2 separate regions of the Homo sapiens genome follow, and region 1 is linked to region 2. The links are contacts of gene promoters, found by promoter capture Hi-C in blood cells and fetal thymus (Javierre and others, 2016). All regions are on one chromosome and are shown on one strand. Each heading gives the region's core, a stretch centred on a gene start or on the middle of the fragment in contact. The rest is flanking DNA. Distances are from core to core; before and after follow the strand shown.

What was found. The method cuts DNA at HindIII sites, captures the fragments that hold promoters and counts their contacts. A CHiCAGO score of 5 or more calls a contact.
Region 1: a contact is called between a fragment that was not itself captured here and the fragment with the promoter of CXCL2 in region 2, in 1 of 17 cell types (megakaryocytes). The highest score is 6.7, in megakaryocytes.

Annotation. Positions count from the first base shown.
Region 1 is chr4:74,131,850-74,137,678 of GRCh38, reverse strand. All of the region lies in intron 1 of LOC105377277 (a long non-coding RNA gene), which reads left to right. It also overlaps a transcript of MTHFD2L not described here. Among named protein-coding and RNA genes, the nearest start is that of MTHFD2L, 23 kb to the left of the region's middle. The HindIII fragment of the contact is 511 bases long and covers 4,285-4,795 here.
Region 2 is chr4:74,096,439-74,101,982 of GRCh38, reverse strand. CXCL2 (C-X-C motif chemokine ligand 2) reads left to right here and starts at 2,788. Exons shown (of 4, transcript NM_002089.4): 1 at 2,788-2,962; 2 at 3,061-3,184; 3 at 3,299-3,382; 4 at 4,212-4,943. The coding sequence starts at 2,863. The coding sequence ends at 4,227. The HindIII fragment of the contact is 3,135 bases long and covers 192-3,326 here.

The DNA of each region.
Region 1 (5,829 bases), core at 3,291-5,790, 34 kb before region 2:
GAATAATGCAGCAGTAAACATGGGAATGCAGATATCTTCTTGATATATTGATTTTTTAAATGTATATACCCAGTAGTGAAATAGCTAGATCATATGGTAGTTCTATTTTCAGTTTTTTGAAGAACCTCTGTACAATCTTCTGTACTGGCTGTACTAATTCCCACCAACTGTGTATGAGAATTCCCCTTTCTCCACATCCTTGCCGGCATCTGTTATTATCTATCTTTTTGATACAAGCCATTTTAACTGGGATGGGATGATATCTCATTGTGGTTTTAATTTGCATTTCTCTGATATATAGTACTGTTGAGCATTACTTTAATATAGCTGTTAGTCATTTGTATATTTCCTTTTGAGAGGTGTCTATTCAGACATGTTGTCCATTTTTAAATTAAGGTTTACATTTTTTTCCTATTGAATTGTTTGAGATTTCTATATACTCTAGTTATTAATCCCTTGTCAGATAAATAGCTTGCAATTGTTTTTTCCCATTCTGGGTTGTTTCTTCACTCTGTTGATTGTTTCCTTTGCTATTCAAAAGTTTTATAGTTTGATGTAATCCCAATTGTCTATTTTTGCTTTGGTTGCCTGTGCTTTAGAGGTTACACAAGAAATCTTTGTCCAGATCATTGTCCTGAAGTATTTCCTCAGAGTTTTATTCTAGTAGTTCATGGTTTTAGGTCTTAGATTCAAGTCTTTAATTCATTTTGATTTAATTTTTGTGTATGGTGAGAGATAGGGGTCTAGTTTCTTTCTTCTGCATATAGTTATCCAATTTTCTCAGCACCACCTATTGAAAAGGCTGACCTTTCCCCATTTTAGGCTCTTAATGCCTTTGCTGAAGATGAATTGGCTGCAAATGCATGGATTTATTTCCAGATTATTATTCTGTTTTATTTATCTGTCTGTTTTTATGCCAGTACCATACTGTTTTGGTTACTATAGCTTTGTAATAGATTTGAAGTCAGGTAGTGTGATGTATACAGCTTTGTTCTTTTTGTTCAGGATTGCTTTGGCTATTTAGGATCTTTTGCAGTTCCATATGAATTTCAGATTTTTAAAACATTTCTGTGAAGAATGTCATTGGAATTTTGATGGGGATTGCAGTGAGTCTGGAAATTGTTTGGGGTAGTATTGTCATATTAACAATATTAAGTCTTCCAATCCATGAGCGGAGAATATTTTTCCAATTTTTTGGTGCTTTCTTCTATTTCTTTCACCAGAGTTTTATAGTTTTTCTTGTGTAGGTCTTTCACATCTTTGGTTTCAATTGATTCCCAGGTATTGCATATTCTTTGTAGTTTTAAATGAGATTGCCTTCTTGACTTCATTTTTGGCTAGATCAGTCTTGGTGTGTAGAAACACTACTAATTTTTGTACATTGATTTTGTATCCTACAACTTTACTAAATTCCTGTATGAGTTATAACAGTTTTTTTTGGTAGAGTCTTTAGGTTTTTCTGCATATAAGATGAACAAAGCTAATTTGACTTCTACCTTTCCAATTTGGTTTTCCTTCATTTCTTTTTCTTACCTAATTGCTCTGGCCAGGACTTCCAGTATTATATTGAATAACAGCAAAATAATAGTGAAAGTGGGCATTCTTATCTTGGTCTAGCCTTTAGAGGAAAGGCCTTCAATTTTTCCTTGTTAAGTGTGTTGTTAGCTATGGGTTTGTCATAGATGGCTTTTATTATTTTCAGGTATGTTTCTTCTATGCCCAGTTTGTTGAGGATTTTTATCATAAAGGAATGTTGAATTTTATCAAATGCCTTTACCTTTATGGCATCTATTGAAATAATTATATGATTCTCATTCTCGATTCTGTTAATGTCGTGTATAACATGTATTGATTTGCATATGTTGAACCATCCTGTATCTCTGGAATGAATTCTACTTGACAATGGTAAATGAGTATTTTGCTGAAGATTTTTACATCTGTGTTCACTGGTGATATTGGCCTCTAGCTTCTTTAAAAAAAAAATGTGTCCTTGTCTGGTTTTGGTATCACAGTAACACTGGCCTTGTAGAATGAGTTTGAAAGTATTCCCTCTCTCCTCTTTAATCGTTTTGAAGTATTTGAATAGAATTGGTATTAGTTCTTTAAATGTTTGGTAGAACTTAGCAGTGAAGTTATCAGGCCGTGAGCTTTTCTTTGATGGGAGACTTTTTATTATGGCTTTGATTTCATAACTCATTATTGGCTTATTGAGGTTTTCTATTTGTTGATGGTTCAATATTGGTAGGTTGCATGTGTCCAGGAATTTATCCATTTCTTCTATATTTTCCAATTTGTTGGCATGTAATGGTTCCTAATTGTTTCTAATGATTCTTAGTATTTCTGAGGTCTCAGTTGTCATGTGTCCATTTTTGTTCCTACTTTTATTTATTTGGGTCTTCTCTCTTTTTTTCTTATTCTGGCTAAAGATGATTTGGAGCTCCTTTATATGCTGCTTGCTTCTTTTCTCTTGCTGCCATTACAGTTTTATCTTTATGCTTGATCTTTGACAGTTTGATTAGTAAATACCTTCATTAGTCTTATTTGACTAATGTGATGCTCTAAGGCCTTCCTGTACCTGAATATTTATATCTTTCTCATGTTTTGGAAAGTATTCTCTTATTATTTCTTTGAATAAGCTTTCTACCCTTGCTCCTGCTCTGCTCTCTCTTGAACATCAATAATTTTTAGATTTTGTCTTTGAGGTAATTTTCTATATCTTGTAAGTGGCCTTCTCTCATTTTCATTCTTTTTTTCTTTTCTCTCCTCTGTTTATTTTTTAACAGCCAGTCTTTGAGCTCATTGATTCTCTTCTCTGCTTGACCTATTCTGTGGTTGAGATCCCCTGAAGAGTTTCTTAGTTCAGCAAATGTAGTTCTTAGTTACAAGATTTCTGCTTATCATTATTTCAATTTCCTTGTTAAATTTCTCTGATAAATATCTGAGTTGCTTTTCTGTGTTATCTTAGAGATAACAAAGTTTCCTTAAAACAGCTGTTTTGAATTCTTGGTCAGAGAGTTCACAAATCGCCATCTCAGGAGGGTCAGTCGCTGGAACTTTGCTTTGTCTAGAAGGTTATGGTTCCATGTTTGCTGTTGTTTCTTGTGGGTATACATCTATGTATTTGTATTAATAATTATTTAGTCCAGCTTTATCTGTCTAGTTTGGTTTGGTTTTTATTGAATACAGTTGCTTATGAATCTTAACTGCCAGCTTGCTGCCTTGTTTTCGGCTCTAGATGGCGCCATAAGCCTATGTTTACCTTGACTTTTGCAAATGGCCATGGCACTGCCTGTCCCATAAGGAGGAGGACCAAAGGGATTACCCTAGCACTGTGGGAAGGCCGGCCACGGGTGTGTTCCCAGGGGACTTGTGGAACATACTTGCTACATGATTTCTACTGATTTGGCATCTCCTTTGGTCAAGTTACAAGGAGTTTTTACGGCTGAGGATGGTAGTCCTGGCTTCCCTATTTGTCTTTGCCAGCCTTCACAGACATTTCTCCCTCCAGGCAGTCACAGTGCTACCTGTGGTTTAAGGCAAAGGCAGGTCTCCTGGCAGGAAACCGAAGAAGATGGGAAAGCTGGTTGACAATCTCAATTTCACGTTTTTCAGTGCAGAAACCATGAGTTGAGGGCAGATTTTTCATACTGCTGATGCCTGGTGTAATGCAGGGAAGAGGCCTCATGGATGTAGAATCTGGTTCTCCTACCATCTGCTCAGAATGTTTCCACTTCTCTGTACCTACAGGAACTGTCTCATCCTCATACAGGATCTCTGGGTTGCTGCTGGTGAAGATCTTGCTGCTGTGTATTTCTTTTTGGTTTCTGGTGGAGGGGAGAGAAGCAAGCTTGCTTCTATGCTGCCATTTTGGGATTAGAAAACCGATATGTGAACTTTATAACTAAGAATTCAAAATAGCAATTTTAAGGAAACTCAGTGACCTACAAGATAACATAGAAAAACAATTCAGATACTTATCAGAGAAATTTAACAAGAAAATTGAAATAATAATTTAAAAATGAAACAGAAATCTTGGAACGGAGAACCACATTTGCTGAATTGAAACACTCTTTAGAGGATCTCAATAACAGAATGGGTTAGAGAAAAGAATCAGTGAGCTCAAAGACTGGCTATTAAGAAAATACAGTCCAAAGAAAGAAAAGAAAAAAACAATAAAAAGAAATGAAGGCCACCTTTAAAATATAGAAAATTACCTCAAAAGACCAAATCTAAAAATTATTGGTGTTTAAGGGGGAGCTGAGCAAGAGCAAGGGGAGAAAAGCTTATCCTAAGAAATAATAACAGAGCACTTTCCAAAACTCATGAAAGACAGAAATATCTAGATATAGAAAGGTCAGGGAACACCAAACAGATTCAACCCAAGTAACACTAACCAAGGCATATAATAATTGAACTTTCAAATATCAAAGACAAAGAGAAGATCCAGAAAGCAGCAAAAGAGTAAAATAACAAAGCAACTCCAGTTCATCTGGCAACAGACTTCACAATGGAAACCATGTAGGCCAGAAGGAAATAGGGCAGCATTAACAAAGAGAAATTGTCTTTCACAGACAAAAGCTAAGAGAATTCACCACTACTAGACCCGTCTTGCAAGAAATGCTAAAGGGAATTCTTCAACCTGAAATTAAAAAATGCTAACATATTAGTGTACTAACTAAAAGAAAATATTTCAAGGTATAAAACCCACTGGTAAAATTAAGTATGAACACAACCCCAGAATATGCTAATAATTTAATTGTGGTGTGCAATCCAATCATAACTCTAGTAAGAAGCTTATAAAGACAAATCTATCAAAAACAATAATAGCGACAACAACCTGTTCAAAATAGATATTTTTAAAATATGCGAACTGATATAATAAAAATTCAAAGTGTTTGTGGGAGGTGTGGAGTTAAAGTGTAGAGCATTTTTTTCATTATTATTATACTTTAAGTTCTGAGATACATGTGCAGAATGTGCAGGTTTGTTACATAGGTATACATGTGCTATGGTGGTTTGCTGCACCCATCAACCCGTCATCTACATTAGGTACTTCTCCTAATGGTGTCCCTCCCTTAGCGCCCCACCCTCTGACAGGCCCTGGTGTGTGATGTTCCCCTCCCTGTGTCCATGTGTTCTCATTGTTCAACTCCCACTTATGAGTGAGAACATGTGGTGTTTGGTTTTCTGTTCTTGTGTTAGTTTGCTGAGAATGATGGTTTCTAGCTTCACCCATGTCTCTGCAAAGGATGTGAACTCATCCTTTTTTATGGCTGCATAGTATTCCATGGTGTATATGTGCCACATTTTCTTTATCCAATCTATCATTGATGGGTATTTGGGTTGGTTTGACATCTTTGCTATTGCTATAGTGCTGCAAGAAACATACCTGTGCATGTGTGATTATAGTAGAATGATTTATAATCCTTTGGGTATATATCCAGTAATGAGATTGCTGGTCAAATGGTATTTCTGGTTCTAGATCCTTGAGGAATCGCTACATTGTCTTCCATAATGGCTGAACTAATTTATTCTCCCACCAACAATATAAAAGCATCCCTATTTCTCCACTTCCTCTTCAGTATCTGTTGTTTCCTGACTTTTTAATGATTGCCATTCTAACTAGTGTGAGATGGTATCTCATTGTGGTTTTGATTTGCATTTCTCTAATGACCAGTGATAATGAGCTTTCTTTTTATATATGTTTTTTTGGCCGCATAAATGTCTTCTTTTAAGAAGTGTCTGTTCACATCCTTCACCCACTTTTTGATGGGCATGTTTGTTTGTTTTTCTTGTAAATTTGTTTAAGTTCTTTGTAGATCCTGGATA
Region 2 (5,544 bases), core at 1,539-4,038:
CAATAAAAATTAAAGGGGAGAATGGAATTTAGGAAACTGTACTTCCATTTTAGAGATAGCATCTTTGAGTTAGTAATTGCATGGGTTTACAACTTGTGCCTGTAACAGTGGCACTCAACTCATATTAAGACAAGAAGGAATTTATTATGGTAAGTTTCATAACACTGGTACCCTTAAAAACTTCAGAAGCTTGGTCTGGGGCTGTCATAAGTTAAATCATGGAAAGTGGTATATTAAGAAAAGAAAAAGGAATTCTACTTCCCTTCCTAAAGCAAATAATTTTTAGTAAACAAATTCTAGGAATAACGTACATAATTTTACAAATGATGGGCTGATTCTTGAAATTTCTCATCTTTTTGAGGGACTGTTACTGTAGATAATAGAAATTTTACTCTTTCTATTTACTCACATCAATACTTTGGGATGAGTCTGGCAATCATTATAAGCTGATGTTTTCTATTGTTCTTTAGTTCTTTAGCACAAAATAAAGAAGTTTGGGCAGCTAGCTGTTAATGCCCAAGGCAGAGTCATTTCATAAATCTTTTCTAATAAATGGATAGGGTAGAATTTTACTCTTATTCTCATTTTATGTGGAAAGTGATTGAAACTAAAATTTCAAACAAACAATGGATCAAAAAATTATTGTAAGATCCCATAAGGATAGAAATGCACCCTCCTTTAAAATTTCTGATGCTGAAAAATTTTAAAGGTAAATTAGAAGATGTTTCTTTGAAAATATTTCTTTCTTTGTGCGTGTGTGTGTTCATAAGGCTTTATCAGAGTGCTTCTGTTTAGTTAAGTGTCTTAGTCAGTTTGAGCTGCTATAACAGAATGCCATAGGCTAGGGGGCTTAAACAACAATTATTTCACAGTTCTGGAGGCTGGGGAGTCCAAGATTAAGATCCTGGCAGATTTCATGCTTGGTGAGGGCCCTCTTCTCAGTTTGCAGATGGTGGCCTTCTTGCTGTGTCCTCACAATGCAGAAAGGGAGAGAGAGCCAGAGATCGAAAGCTCACTGATCTCTTGCTGTAATGGCACTTATCCCATCATGGGGGCCATACCTTCATAACCTCACCTAAACCTAATTACTTCCCATGGTCCTGTCTTCTAATATTAGCACATAAGGGAGTCAGGGCTTCATCATCTGAATTTGAAAGAGACACAAACATCCAGCCTATATCAGTAAGGTTGTGAAACACCACTTCTATTTTGTTATTTAACAAATATTTACATAACACTTTACATGCACTGATGGTTTACACATATTAACAATCAATACTTCTAACAACCCCGTGAGGCAGGCACTATTATAAGCTCTTCTACAGGGGAGAAACATGAGCAAATAAAGCATAAATTACCAAGGGTCATGAAGCAAGTTAGTGGTATGGCTGAAACTTCAGCCCTGACATCCTTATCAAGTGATCTCTACAGCTGCAGCATCCAGGGAACACTCTATTCCTAAGGTAGTCCCACTTCTTCATCCTCGTGCCACTCCCAGCCCTTCTCATAGCAGTGGCAGAATATCTCCATATCCCTGAAGTCTGCATCCACCAGGAAGAATTAAGACAGAGTATTGTAGGCCTACAGCTTAATTTTTAAAGAGAGGGGGTCATTGAAATTGATGATGAAAAGTCAGTAATCCAGTGAGAAGGCATCAGCTAAACAGGCTTGGAAATGCTTTATTGACATTCCTCTAGAACTAAAATTTCCTCGATAGCTGTTTCTCTAGAGGGAACCAATCCCAGGATGCTGGTAAATACATATGGCATGGAAATGCAATTATGTTAGCAATCTAGTATGTATATATCAGACATGTCTGCTTGTGCTTAGAGTAGTAAACAAGCGGAGTCTCATTCCCTGCTCCTTTTCTGGTGGTGTCTATGGCCTTTTCTGCCCAGGGACAGCACTAGAAAAGGCAGACCTCCTGAGCCCAACAGGCCCCTCGCAGCTCCCAGTGACTTCCATGGATCAAAACACAGACTTCCATACAACAAAAAATTGATGCTACTGGAATTACTAGAGTTCGAGATGTTCCAAGATTTCAAAGAGAGAAAGGATGGGGGATTGCAACACTGTTAACTAAAATAAACACTGAATTGACCCTTGGCAATGGTCTGTTCCCGCACCCAACACCTGGCTCCACTACGTTGAAACACACACACACACACACACACACACACACACACACACACACACACGTGATATTTGCTTTTAAGATCATAAAACACCAGGAAGGAGACAAAAGCTCTTATGCGTCATCTGAGATGACACATGTACTGTTAAAGCGTGCGTTTATTTCAAACATTAATGAAATTTGCAGAACCCAAACTAAAGAGAGAGGATAGATAAGACATGCTGCAGTTCTTGCCCTAACTTTCAATCCCAACAACTGAAATGTCTTCCAGAGAAGTAACTCCCCCCGGTAAGGATGTAGCGCGGTCCCTACGTGGGTCTAAGGGATCTGACCCACGACGCACTGCACTGGGTTCACGAAGCGCCTCCTCGCAGGCGGTTATCTCGGTATCTCTGAGAGCGGCGGGCTCTCGCTCCCGCTCCAGGGATTCGGGGCAGAAAGAGAACATCCCACAGTTGGCGGGAGTTACGCAAGACAGTCAGACCCGGACGTCACTCGTGAGTGCCCCGACCCCCCTCCACCCCAGAGGCGGGGCCATCGCCTTCCTTCCGAACTCGGGATCGATCTGGAGCTCCGGGAATTTCCCTGGCCCGGGACTCCGGGCTTTCCAGCCCCAACCATGCATAAAAGGGGTTCGCCGTTCTCGGAGAGCCACAGAGCCCGGGCCACAGGCAGCTCCTTGCCAGCTCTCCTCCTCGCACAGCCGCTCGAACCGCCTGCTGAGCCCCATGGCCCGCGCCACGCTCTCCGCCGCCCCCAGCAATCCCCGGCTCCTGCGGGTGGCGCTGCTGCTCCTGCTCCTGGTGGCCGCCAGCCGGCGCGCAGCAGGTGGGTCCCGGCGCCCTGGGGTCCCCGGGCCGGACGCGGCTGGGGTGGGCGCCCCGCGCCGACAGCCCCGCTCAATCAGCGAGTCTCTTCTTCCCTAGGAGCGCCCCTGGCCACTGAACTGCGCTGCCAGTGCTTGCAGACCCTGCAGGGAATTCACCTCAAGAACATCCAAAGTGTGAAGGTGAAGTCCCCCGGACCCCACTGCGCCCAAACCGAAGTCATGTAAGTCTCGCCCATCGCTGCCGCTGCCACTGCTGGGGTCCCCGACTCTCCCGCTGCCCCAAACCCTGTCCTCAGCCCGACCTCCTGTCTCACGAGATTCCCTTCTCTCTGCAGAGCCACACTCAAGAATGGGCAGAAAGCTTGTCTCAACCCCGCATCGCCCATGGTTAAGAAAATCATCGAAAAGATGCTGAAAAAGTAAGTTATAATTTCCATGTACACAGGCGACTGGAGCTGTTGGTCAGAAATACTGGCGTCTGCCCCCTAAAAAGTAAATCAGGAAAACCCAGGGTTAGCTGCAGGACTGAAAAAATTATTATTTTCACAAAGTTGCCATTAAGGTTATTAATCTGTTCTGGTGCCAGAGGATATTCCCAGTGCCCAGGGTCACCACCCAGGTTCTTCCCTCCTGCCAGTGAATGTAGGTAAAACTGCTTTCATGTAAGGTCTCATTGGAGTTTGCCAGTTGTGCTGAAGTGTTTTCCACCTGTTAAAAAACACAAGCTTCATTTCCCCTAGTTCCTACTGACTTTCAGACCTGAAAAGCAGACCCCCTGGTTTTTTGTAAAAGTTTAGGGTTGAAGTGCAGAGATTTCACAATAATATTGCACTGGGTATATAACTGGTTGCCACCACCTATTAGCCATGTCACTCAGAGACAATATTATTTAGTTTATCTGAGACTCAGCAAAACAGGGAAAATAATGGTAGCTACATCATGAGGTTGCTTTGAGGCTCAAGTGAGGCCCAGTATGACAAAGAGCAATAGGCTCTGGCTGTTTTAGCCAGTAAAACAGTGTAGACTGCCACTCCTCCACCCCACGTCACCCCCATTCCTAAAAGAGCATCCCAAGCCTAGAGGTCCTTGCCACACAGCACAGCTGTCACAGGCAGTACCCACTTGGGTGCCAGGCTGGGGAAACTGCATTCAGAAAACTCTAGAGCCTGGGGAAACAGGACAGGAGAAGACTGTTGTGCAGTCAGCTTTCCTGAGCACCTACTCAGGGCACCCATTTTCTCATTACAGTGGCAAATCCAACTGACCAGAAGGAAGGAGGAAGCTTATTGGTGGCTGTTCCTGAAGGAGGCCCTGCCCTTACAGGAACAGAAGAGGAAAGAGAGACACAGCTGCAGAGGCCACCTGGATTGCGCCTAATGTGTTTGAGCATCACTTAGGAGAAGTCTTCTATTTATTTATTTATTTATTTATTTGTTTGTTTTAGAAGATTCTATGTTAATATTTTATGTGTAAAATAAGGTTATGATTGAATCTACTTGCACACTCTCCCATTATATTTATTGTTTATTTTAGGTCAAACCCAAGTTAGTTCAATCCTGATTCATATTTAATTTGAAGATAGAAGGTTTGCAGATATTCTCTAGTCATTTGTTAATATTTCTTCGTGATGACATATCACATGTCAGCCACTGTGATAGAGGCTGAGGAATCCAAGAAAATGGCCAGTGAGATCAATGTGACGGCAGGGAAATGTATGTGTGTCTATTTTGTAACTGTAAAGATGAATGTCAGTTGTTATTTATTGAAATGATTTCACAGTGTGTGGTCAACATTTCTCATGTTGAAGCTTTAAGAACTAAAATGTTCTAAATATCCCTTGGACATTTTATGTCTTTCTTGTAAGGCATACTGCCTTGTTTAATGTTAATTATGCAGTGTTTCCCTCTGTGTTAGAGCAGAGAGGTTTCGATATTTATTGATGTTTTCACAAAGAACAGGAAAATAAAATATTTAAAAATATAAAATGTTTGTTTTATTTTGGGGGAAACAAGGACTATATTTGCTGAAAAATCTGATGATTTACATCAATATTTATTTCTCAATTTTTTTCTGGGTTTTCAATCTGCTATACAGATAAACTATGAATTATGCCTAATTTCATGTGGTGATTGCTGTCACTCCCCTTGGCTCTCACCTAGTAAAGAATGTGCCTTACCAAACTATGGTCTTGCCCCTGATGGGAGAATCACTGATACATATTGCCATTTTTACAAGAAGTTCCTTACTACCTTGCTACTCAAATTTACCTCCTTAAAAATATGGAGGGGGGAAATATGGCAGAGACGTTTTAACCAGAGCAACTCCATCTTGAATAGGGGCTAGGCAAAATGGGGCTGAGGTTTACTGGGCTGGGCTGCATTCCCAGTAGGTTAGGCATTCGAAGTCACAGGATGAGATAGGAGATTGGCACAAGATACAGGTCATAAAGACCTTGCTGATAAAACAGGTTACAGTAAAGAAGCCAGCTAAAACCCACCAAAGCCAAGATGGAGACGAGAGTGACCTCTGTCGTTCTCACTCGTCATTATACACTAATTATAATATATTAGCATGCTAAAAG